Regions from separate parts of the Homo sapiens genome. Here region 2 is linked to region 1. Evidence: promoter capture Hi-C in human tissues and cell types (Jung and others, 2019). All regions are on one chromosome and are shown on one strand. Each heading gives the region's core, a stretch centred on a gene start or on the middle of the fragment in contact. The rest is flanking DNA. Distances are from core to core; before and after follow the strand shown.

What was found. Contacts are between HindIII fragments. The study calls those that stand out against the background at their distance.
Region 2: a fragment that was not itself captured here is called in contact with the fragment with the promoter of COL25A1 in region 1 in 1 of the 25 tissues and cell types used here (H1 embryonic stem cells).

The regions. Positions count from the first base shown.
Region 1 is chr4:109,300,037-109,304,754 of GRCh38, forward strand. It overlaps COL25A1 (collagen type XXV alpha 1 chain), which reads right to left and starts at 2,622. Exons shown (of 38, transcript NM_198721.4): 1 at 2,133-2,622; 2 at 1,687-2,039; 3 at 547-616. The coding sequence starts at 1,983. COL25A1-DT (COL25A1 divergent transcript) reads left to right here and starts at 2,999. Exons shown (of 3, transcript NR_160939.1): 1 at 2,999-3,291. RefSeq lists an enhancer at 2,694-3,476. The HindIII fragment of the contact is 11,543 bases long and covers 1-4,718 here.
Region 2 is chr4:109,243,992-109,248,478 of GRCh38, forward strand. The region is part of intron 3 of COL25A1 (collagen type XXV alpha 1 chain); the gene reads right to left. Among named protein-coding and RNA genes, the nearest start is that of COL25A1, 56 kb to the right of the region's middle. The HindIII fragment of the contact is 4,025 bases long and covers 364-4,388 here.

The DNA of each region.
Region 1 (4,718 bases), core at 1,372-3,871:
CAAGATAAAGAAATCATTTTCTTTCAGTCATCATCTCTAGCTATAGGATAGGAGATGGAATCTTTTTAATAGAACAGAAACAGCAGGAAAGGAAGTGAAGGTGGTTTACTAACATAAACGTATGCCAAAGGGAATAAACCAAAACAAAAAAAAAAAAAAACTCTGCACTAACACAATAAGAGCGAGCCAGGAATTCAGAATCTAACAGTTCTACAGTCCTTTTCACTGTAGACATTAAGACAATTTAATTGAAGAATATTTTTCAATCTGTGAATCTAAGAAGTTTGTCCTTGTACATCACCTTGCCTATATTTTCTTTGGTGATTATATCCTTTGCTTTCCCATAACAGGCCTTGGTATGCTGCTTAAAATAATATTTGGGGCTTTATTTGCCATCCTTTTGAATGAGACATGTTGATTTTATTAAAGCAAGTTGGGTCTGCATTCTTTCTTTACTATTATTACAGGTAGACTTGACAGACACAGGACCTTTGTTTTAAAATGCTCTGCTCTGGAGGAAACCTTGTTAAATAAGTTCCATTTTACCTGCTGGGCAGTTACATTCTGAAGGTGCTTCTCTTGCGATTCTTATTTTAGCCATATGTTCATAGGATTTCTGTAGGAAAAGAAGAGTTATTAATAATCATCAGTAGCACTGTAGAGGGATGGAGTCTTTAGGGACTCTGGCCATACGCCTGATTTACCGGCATTTCATAACCTGCATAACTAACATTTACATATGTACTTGGACTCTAGTCAAGAAAGTAACCATGCCTAAGTCCTAAAAAAAGAAAATGACCACTGATAGGGTATCAAGATTGCTGGACTTGTATAACATCTTTCTCCATTCTTCTCTACCACCACTCTCTCCCTCAGCTCAAGCATATGCAGTCAATGTAAAAACCTAGCACTAAAATGTTGCAGTATTAGGTAAGCTGTGGCTTACCAATAACAGCCAATATTTTATACATGAAGGTCAACTGCTTTATTTATCATGCTAGGCTGCAACTACTGCCAAATAGGCTCCCGGCTAGGGTAAGGTTCCAGAAAACCCCCTTACTCTAGTCTAAAGGTACCCTTACACATAACATAGATTCCTCTCAACTCTCAATTCCAAGGGCTCTGCATTCATAAATACCCCGGCACTGCATCCTTTACCAAAAATAAAGCTACTTTAAAAAAAAAAAGTTTAAACTTTTAATATGAAAAGATTCAACGTGTGAAATTATTGATTTTAAATTATATATGACATTATTTTACATTTAAGAGTGATTACCTTTTTTATATATTAATAACATCTATGACCCTAACCATCTTACAACATGTAAAAGATTTAACAGATGCTATCTCTGCAAGAAATATTCTCTCCACAATTGGGTTTGACTTAGGACAACTAAAAAGAGATAAAATGCCCTTTCCGAACCCTTTTAGACCTTCCTATGTGTTTAACACGCAAACATTAAGAGAGAGTGAGGGAAGATTAGAGATAGGGATGGGGACATCAAGGGATGTGCACATATAAATATATGCTACAGTGAGCATAGATCCTTGGCCAACACATGCACGCGCGCGCACACACACAGCCACACCAAGTATGGGTACAGTAAGGGTAGCGGCTAGTCATGCACACAGAGTCACGCTTGTACAAGATGTTACCCACGTGCAAAATACCCCAGCCTCTCACACCTGAGCCAGAAGTCGCTCCACTTTCTCTTGCACCATAGTCTTGAGGTGATCCAGGGTATCAGGCAGCAGATGAATGGAAGGGGCCCCTTTGGCGGATTCGAGAGCGGCGATCCTCGCCTGGAGGTCGTTGGTTTTCACACCCAGGTACAGGCAAGACACCACGGCCACCACTGACAGGAGGGCCGCCAGGACGGCACACGGGGGCATGGTCCGGGCACAATGCTGTTCGGCAGGGGTCGGGTCCTCGGATCTGGGCTCCCGGCCCCCTCCTTTCCCTGCGTGCTTCTTCAGCAGCATCGTGGCGGGGTCGGCCGTCTCGGCTTCGCTTCCCACCCTCTACACCTCAAATAATCCTAAAAGGAAAGAAAAAGGTCGATTCCTCCAAAGTTCAGTCCCTGTGGCTGCACAACTAGTTGGTGGAGTCAAGCCCACGAGCGGATACGGACCCCTGCCTTGCTCAGCGTCCAGACCCGCAGGCGTGCACCATCCCCGCTTTCTTCTCTCCTCCCAGCTGGAAGTGAAAAGCACCCTCCGTCCGGGGACTGGGTGGCGGTGGGGTAAAAAGCAAGACGAAACCCACCCAGACAGCTCTTCCGACTCCCAGAGGACCGACACCTCTTTCGAGGGCCCCAACAGTGGCCGCTCAGGGTCCGAGGGCAACGGCCGAGGCGCCACGCGGGGCCGCGGCTCGCCCTGGCCACGGAGGACCGGACCTGTTGCGCCTCTGTGAGTTTGCCTTATTTCTACCTACTCGGTGTCTTTCGGCACGCCGACCTGTTTCCCACCTGCATTCAGTTCAAGGCAAAAAGGCTGTGAGAGCACGCTACAGCGCAGCGCGAAAGGGGCGACTAAGGTGGAGAAGAGAGAGGAAAACGAAATAAACCCAAGGAACCAATGCTACTCGCGAAGCCGAAGTCGCGGCTGCCCGAAGGATCTCCGCAGCCCCGCGTGCGCGATCCTTAAATACCCTTCGCGATGCTCGCGTGAGTGTGTGTGTGAGTGTGTGAGTGCGCGCGCGCTCCGAGCACGACGTCCCTCCCCCGACCCCCTCCCGGCGCCCGGCGTCCGGCCTGCCGCTCCCGCTGCTGCGCGCCCCCCTTCCGAAGGCAAAGCAGGAGCCCGCCTTATTATCATAATGTATTCACCTTGGCCCAGCCCGCGGGCCGGCCCGGGGAACCCCCAAGGGAGGCGGGAAGCTTGGGTGGGAGCGGGGCAGGAGGTCTGTTATTAGCATAATGTATGCAAATAGCTGGAGCGGCCACCGTGATTGGAGAGGAGCCTGGCGACCCCTCCCCCTGCGCGGAGTAACTTCAGCATCTCCGAGGGCCACCTCTCTGGCCTGGGCCGGGGCCGAAGCGGGGTCGGCTGCGCAAGAGGCGGCAACTTTGGCTTATACTGACTCAGCCCAGCGCCCCCTTTTTATCCCACATAAAAATGGAGAAATGGCCTCCGGGAGGAAGATGTGAAGCGGCACGCTCTATCTCTACTGATCTTCACTCAAAAGCAGCCGCAGGAGCTGTTGCTATCTCGCTGTGGTGCAGCGCTTTTCCCTCCTCCCTCACTTTCCCACATGCCCAGAGGCAAAGTGTCTGGCCGACGTCTGAGGTACATTTCCCCACTTCCCTTCTCTTCCCACTGCAGCCCTCAGATTGTCCAACGAGGGGAAGTTTTCCTTCCCCTCCCCCAGTTTCCTTGTCTTGACGGCACTGAGTCTCCTCCCAGCTCTGTATTCCTAGTCTGTACTAGGGTGCTAATGTGTTTTCCTGATTCCCTGTTTTGCGGGATTGGAAAAGGGAGTGTTGAGGTATACACATTTCTCAGGATTTAGGAAAGGAATGAAGAATGAAGTCAGTTTTTCCTTTTACCTGACTCTTAATGCTGTTCTCTCTGGATCAAATTACAAGGTCTCTAATGGGATTTTGGAAAGTTGGTAACAAGTAGCATTTGACATCTAATTGACTTTGGGGAAAACAGAAATCCCACCTCTTATTCCAAAGAGTTCCTTCTTATCTCCCTATAAAAAAAAAAACCATATATTTTTCCTATTCTCCTTAATTAAGCTAACCTGAAGTCGTTGCTTACTATTGTAAACAGTCAACAAAATACTTCACTAAGTTGGTCTTTCACATGTGTAAACGGATATTGCTAGGTGTGAAGCAAGGTAAGGAAATAACAGCATTAGAGGAAGAAAGAGACTAACATTGGAGGAAAACTCAATGAATTTGGCTATAAAGTCAAAACCATAATTCATTTGTATTACACAGTGGTTCTCAAAGGATGGTCCTAGACCAATAACATCAGCATCACCTGAGAACTTGGACATTAAAATTCTAGGTTCCTACCACAGATCTGAATCAGAAACTGCTACTACCACTACTGAAATAATAATTTTAAAAAAAACAGCAATCTGTGTTTTAACAAGCCCTCCAAATGATTTTGATATATACTACTAAAGTTTGAGAACCACTGGTATAATACTTTCCAAAATATTTTCAAATACTTTTTGTATTTGAACCTCATAACCCTGCGATGTGAGGATTTACTGTTCCTCTTTTAAATATAAACAACGTTTTTAAATAAATTTTAAAACAGATAAATTTCAAGTCACATTTAATTGTGATTAAACATGTTTCCAATAACAGGACCCAAATAATGGGTACAAATATTTTAATGTACAAACTCTTTCTGTAACCTCTAGCTGTTCCTTAGTCTCATTTGCAGGCTTTTCCTCTTTCATTTCTCTGAAAGTTGGTGCTCCTTGGGTCTCTGTCTATTCCATCTTCTCTGTATACTCTCTCCAGTAGAGTTCCCATTACACTGATGAGTCATAAATTCATATCAAAAGCCCAAACCTCTCTCCTGAACCTCAGATCCATATAGCCAGTTGCCTCTTTGTCATCTCCGTTTGGATGTCTCACTCTCATTTCCAATGTAACCTGCAGCTTACCTCCAAATTCTGTCTGCTTCCTCTGTTTCCCATCTCAGCCAATGGAGTTGCCATCCATCCAGTCTCCCCAAGCCAAAATACCCAG
Region 2 (4,487 bases), core at 1,126-3,625, 56 kb before region 1:
ATAAAGGTTCTTTTCTACATAGAGGATTCTCAGACCTACACAAAGCAGCTCTAGACTACAGTAAACCCCTACTTTTGTTGATCTCACAGTCATACACAAACACTGTCCTCTTTATCTATCCCGGAAGAAGTAAAGAGAAATAGAAAGAAAGAAAAAAAAAAAAGCATGGTTTTTTTCATCATGAAAAACAGCTGAAAAACAGGCATTGAATTCCCTAAGTCGAGGTAAACCGAATTCCCTAAGTCATGCACAATAGAAAAACAGTGTCTACACTGTGAATTATCTTTTTCCACTTTCCAATATTTTAGTATCCATTGACATACTAAAAAAAGCAGGATGATAATATCCTTAAATTCACAGACTATATCAAAAAAAGTGTCACTTTGTAGGCCTTCCTATGATTATGCTTCATTTAAAAGTACTCACAAGATCCCACTCTTCCCCTTCTATTACAGTAATTTGCAACAATTTTAAGCAACTTTGCAAAGTGAATAAAAAGGAGTTGAAGCATCTGCAATTCAAGGCATTTAAGTTTTAATTCACAAACTGCAGCCCTGAGAATAATTATGAGGGCCTAGTTATTTTCTGCTATGCTGCACATGAAAGGCAACCGATCACTTTTTAAAAAAATACCCAAGATGCAGTATTTTTAGAATTGTTATCATTCTTCACTTGAGTGATTCAATAACAGCAGAACTTGCACTGCAGTCCCCAAAAGAGCTTACATAACTAAACATATACAATCACAGAGGTTTAAAATTAAGTGTCTGGGTAGTGCGTTGCCTCACAGAATATTTGATGAAGGGCATGAAGCAAATCTTTTAAAATTTGCTTCCCAGAAACTCTTAATACTATGATAATATAGTGCCCAATAAATATGTGGATCTCTAGAAAAATATTTTGTGTCTTGATACCTTTATATTTATATTTTTATAATCTCTATTCAAATAGCCATAAACTAAAAGTCACTTAATACACTGGATAACTTTAAAAATCTGATTTTTAAAAGTAAACCTCCAACTTTCTCAATATGGCACTATAATTGACACAGTTAAGACAAAATTTAAGAGTTCAGCTTCTGTCATAACTTAGGAAGGGTTTAAGTGACCATATTATATACTTTATTATCTAGACCTAGATACCTTGAGAGTAAAGGAGGCCCTATTGATAATTATACCAGAATAATAAGCAAAAAACCCCAGAACTTTCCTAGGCAAACCTAGAAAATATGAACATCCTTATCATAGACCAATATGGTCCAGTTTGTTATAGCCAAATATAGGAATCTGCAAGGTCTCCAGGAACTTGGTCCTCTGGGTTGGGACTGGTATACAGGAGGTAATTAACTGGTATGAAGGTGCAGAAAGGAAGTTTATTTTGGAAGTCAAAGCATCTATCAAAAGGCCACTCCGGAGAAGTCGGCAATGGTGGAAGCCAAACTTGAAATAACAAAGGTATCCTATCATATGTGTGGAGCATGGTGATGACAGAATAAAATGCAGGAACATTTCAGAGTACCAGACAAGCAGGGAAAGAATCAGTAAGCCCTTAGAATTAAAGGGCTGAATCTAATCATCCAATCACCTATAACCATTATATGAATACCTGCTATGAACCAAAGTCTACCTTAAGCTTGGGTTCATGAGTACAGCGGCAGCTACCAACACAGGGTATCAGCTAAAAACAAACAGATGATTGTTTACAAAAACTACAGCACAACGTAAGGATTAAATCTGAAAGAAAAAGACAGAAGTCCTATGTCAAGAATCATGGAACAGGAATAGGACAGAGCTTCAGTTAATACAACTATACCCCAAAGGTAGCAGCAAAAAAACAACTCAATGATTAAAGACAGGCAAGTTCACACCACATGATAGGGATTTGTCCCAGGGATCAGGATCAGGGTTAGGCCGGCTGATGGAAGACCAGGGGCCCTTGCCCATGGGTAGGAGAGATATGCAGAGGCCAGGCCTGAAAACTAGTTTTTCAGTAGAGGAACCTCTAGTTGCTTTTTTGTTAAAAAGCAAAAAAAAAAAAAAAAAAAATTTAAAAAACATAAACAATACACAAAATGAAAACATTAACAGCAATAAGGGTACCTAAAGTAGGAAAAAAGACTTAAGCATGAAAATAGATACTATCATAGCAGATACTTCAAATTCCTAAGGCTGCTCAGATACAAGAGTTTAAAACAATGACGATTATAATGATTAATATTCAAATTGTCCTCAAGGTATTACATGTAAGTGCCAATATCTTAATATAAAATTAAGCAGAGATATAAAATGCAAATGACAAATCTATACAGTAAGCTGGTAGAGCTAGAAAACTACTAGTTCTAGCAGTAAACAAATAAAGTAAAAGTAAGCTCTAGAGACTACATCATTTTCATCTATATCAATGAAATTCTGACCTTGGATAGTCAAACAGGGTAAAGACAGTAAATGGTATTCTAATTGATGAGTGAGTACTCCACCAATTCTCAAGGAATTCTTGTTTTCTCAAAAGTGATTTGATATTTTACTGTATCAACTTTCCTATCAAGTTTATGATAATTAGTACATCTATATCTTTATCTATAAATTTAAAAAAATCTGAATAGGCATTCAACAAATCTTAAAATTTTATAAATATTTTAGAATTAAATTGTATTCCAATTTAATTATTCTAAAAAATTGACTCTACTATGATCATTTTTTTCCTGTATATGATTCTATTCTCTTTTTCTTACCTATTCTGTGTTAAACTTCTTCATTAATTTATTTATCTACTTTATAAACTTGTTAAATCATTAAGGAGGAGGCCTCTGTTCTAGGGTTTGTAAGGGACACAAGGATGAAACCAAACATGAGTCCTATCTTCAAGCTTACGTGGAAAATGCACAAAATATGCCCTGGAATGCAAGGTAGGTTCAGAAGATGAACAAATTATTTCTATATAGGAAACTTACATCTGAACTGGGATTTAAAAGGGGAATAATATAATAAAAGACCTAAAACAAAAAGGCTTGATGTTTGTGCATTTAAGAAATTTAAAGTGTTCCAGATCAGCTGGAACATAGAAAAAGGAAGTAAAGAAAGATAAGCTTGAGGCTGGGTGTGGTGGTTCATGCCTGTAATCCCAGCACTTTGGGAGGCCGAGGCGGGTGGATCACCTGAGGTCAGGAGTTCAAGACCAGCCTGGCCAACATGGTAAAACCCCATCTCCACCAAATTAGCCTGGTGTGGTTCTGTAATCTGAGCTACTCAGGAAGCTGAGTGAAGCAGGAGAATGGCTTGAACCCAGGAGGGGGAGTTTGCAGTGAGCAGAGATCGAACCACTGCACTCCAGCCTGGGCGACAGAGCAAGACTGAAAAAAAAAGGAAAGGAGGGAGGGAGGATTGAAAATGTGGAAATGAGCCCATCGTGGAAGGCTTGAATGTCAGGTAAGGAAAAGTGAAAGAAAAGAAGCCAGTTAATGCTTTTATGTAGCAAAACAGCAATTAAGACCAGCTCAAACTATTAGACAAGCCTACAGTCACTTGGGCCTGAATTAGGGAACATGTAATATTGCTTACGTACAATGCAAGGGCTTTAAAACCAATGAATGTTAGAATCATAGGAAAGGAAGACCTGGAAGAAGTTAATACTGAAAAAACAGTAAATAGATAGATAGAGGAGGAGCATATTTAGCAGATGAAGTCAGTCTTGAACATGCTAGGTGGGAAGTAAAACTAAGGCATTCTACATGGGATAACCACCAGGTAGTTAAAAACATGTGTCTTCAACTCAAAAGATCAAAACCTAAAGTAAAGATTTGAGATTCACCAGAACAGATGACACCAAGAGGAAGAATACAGAAACATAAGAGACAAGATCCAAGTAAAACATCAAAGGATGCTTTTAGCCAGCAAAGGCAAGAAACGGGTCAAGAAGGGAGAGAGATAACAGAAAGAAGAGAATCAAGAGAGCTTACTGTCATGAAAGTCAAGGGAAAGTAAGTTCACGGAAGGAGGTATAGTCAACAGAGTCAATTGCTAAAAGAGTTGAAAAGACCTGAGAAAAACCCGTATTGTCCCACAGTCAAGATAATATATGAGAATATTTTACCTTCTACGCATGCCTATATAATGTATTGCTATATAATGTAAATATATATGTATATTTACATATATATAAATGTATTGCTACGATTATAACTACTATTATTCTCTAGTCCTTAGCCAGGGTAATTTGAAACCTTTTATTCTTCACCTAGCTTATTCAGAATTATGAGTATTCAATAGAATTAATATTTCCTTTTTTAGACTCTCAAACTTTTCATCAATAAATATGCATATATTCAACTATGGTAAAGATTTATTTTACTAACAAGTGTGTCCAGAATATATCTTGATCCTAGAAGGAGGCTGAAATCTTCACTGGTTATCAGGGCAATTGTGTTGATGAAGTCCCCTGTTCCAGCCACCCATTCAACTGGCAGCAGTGAAGACAAGGAATCCAGAGCG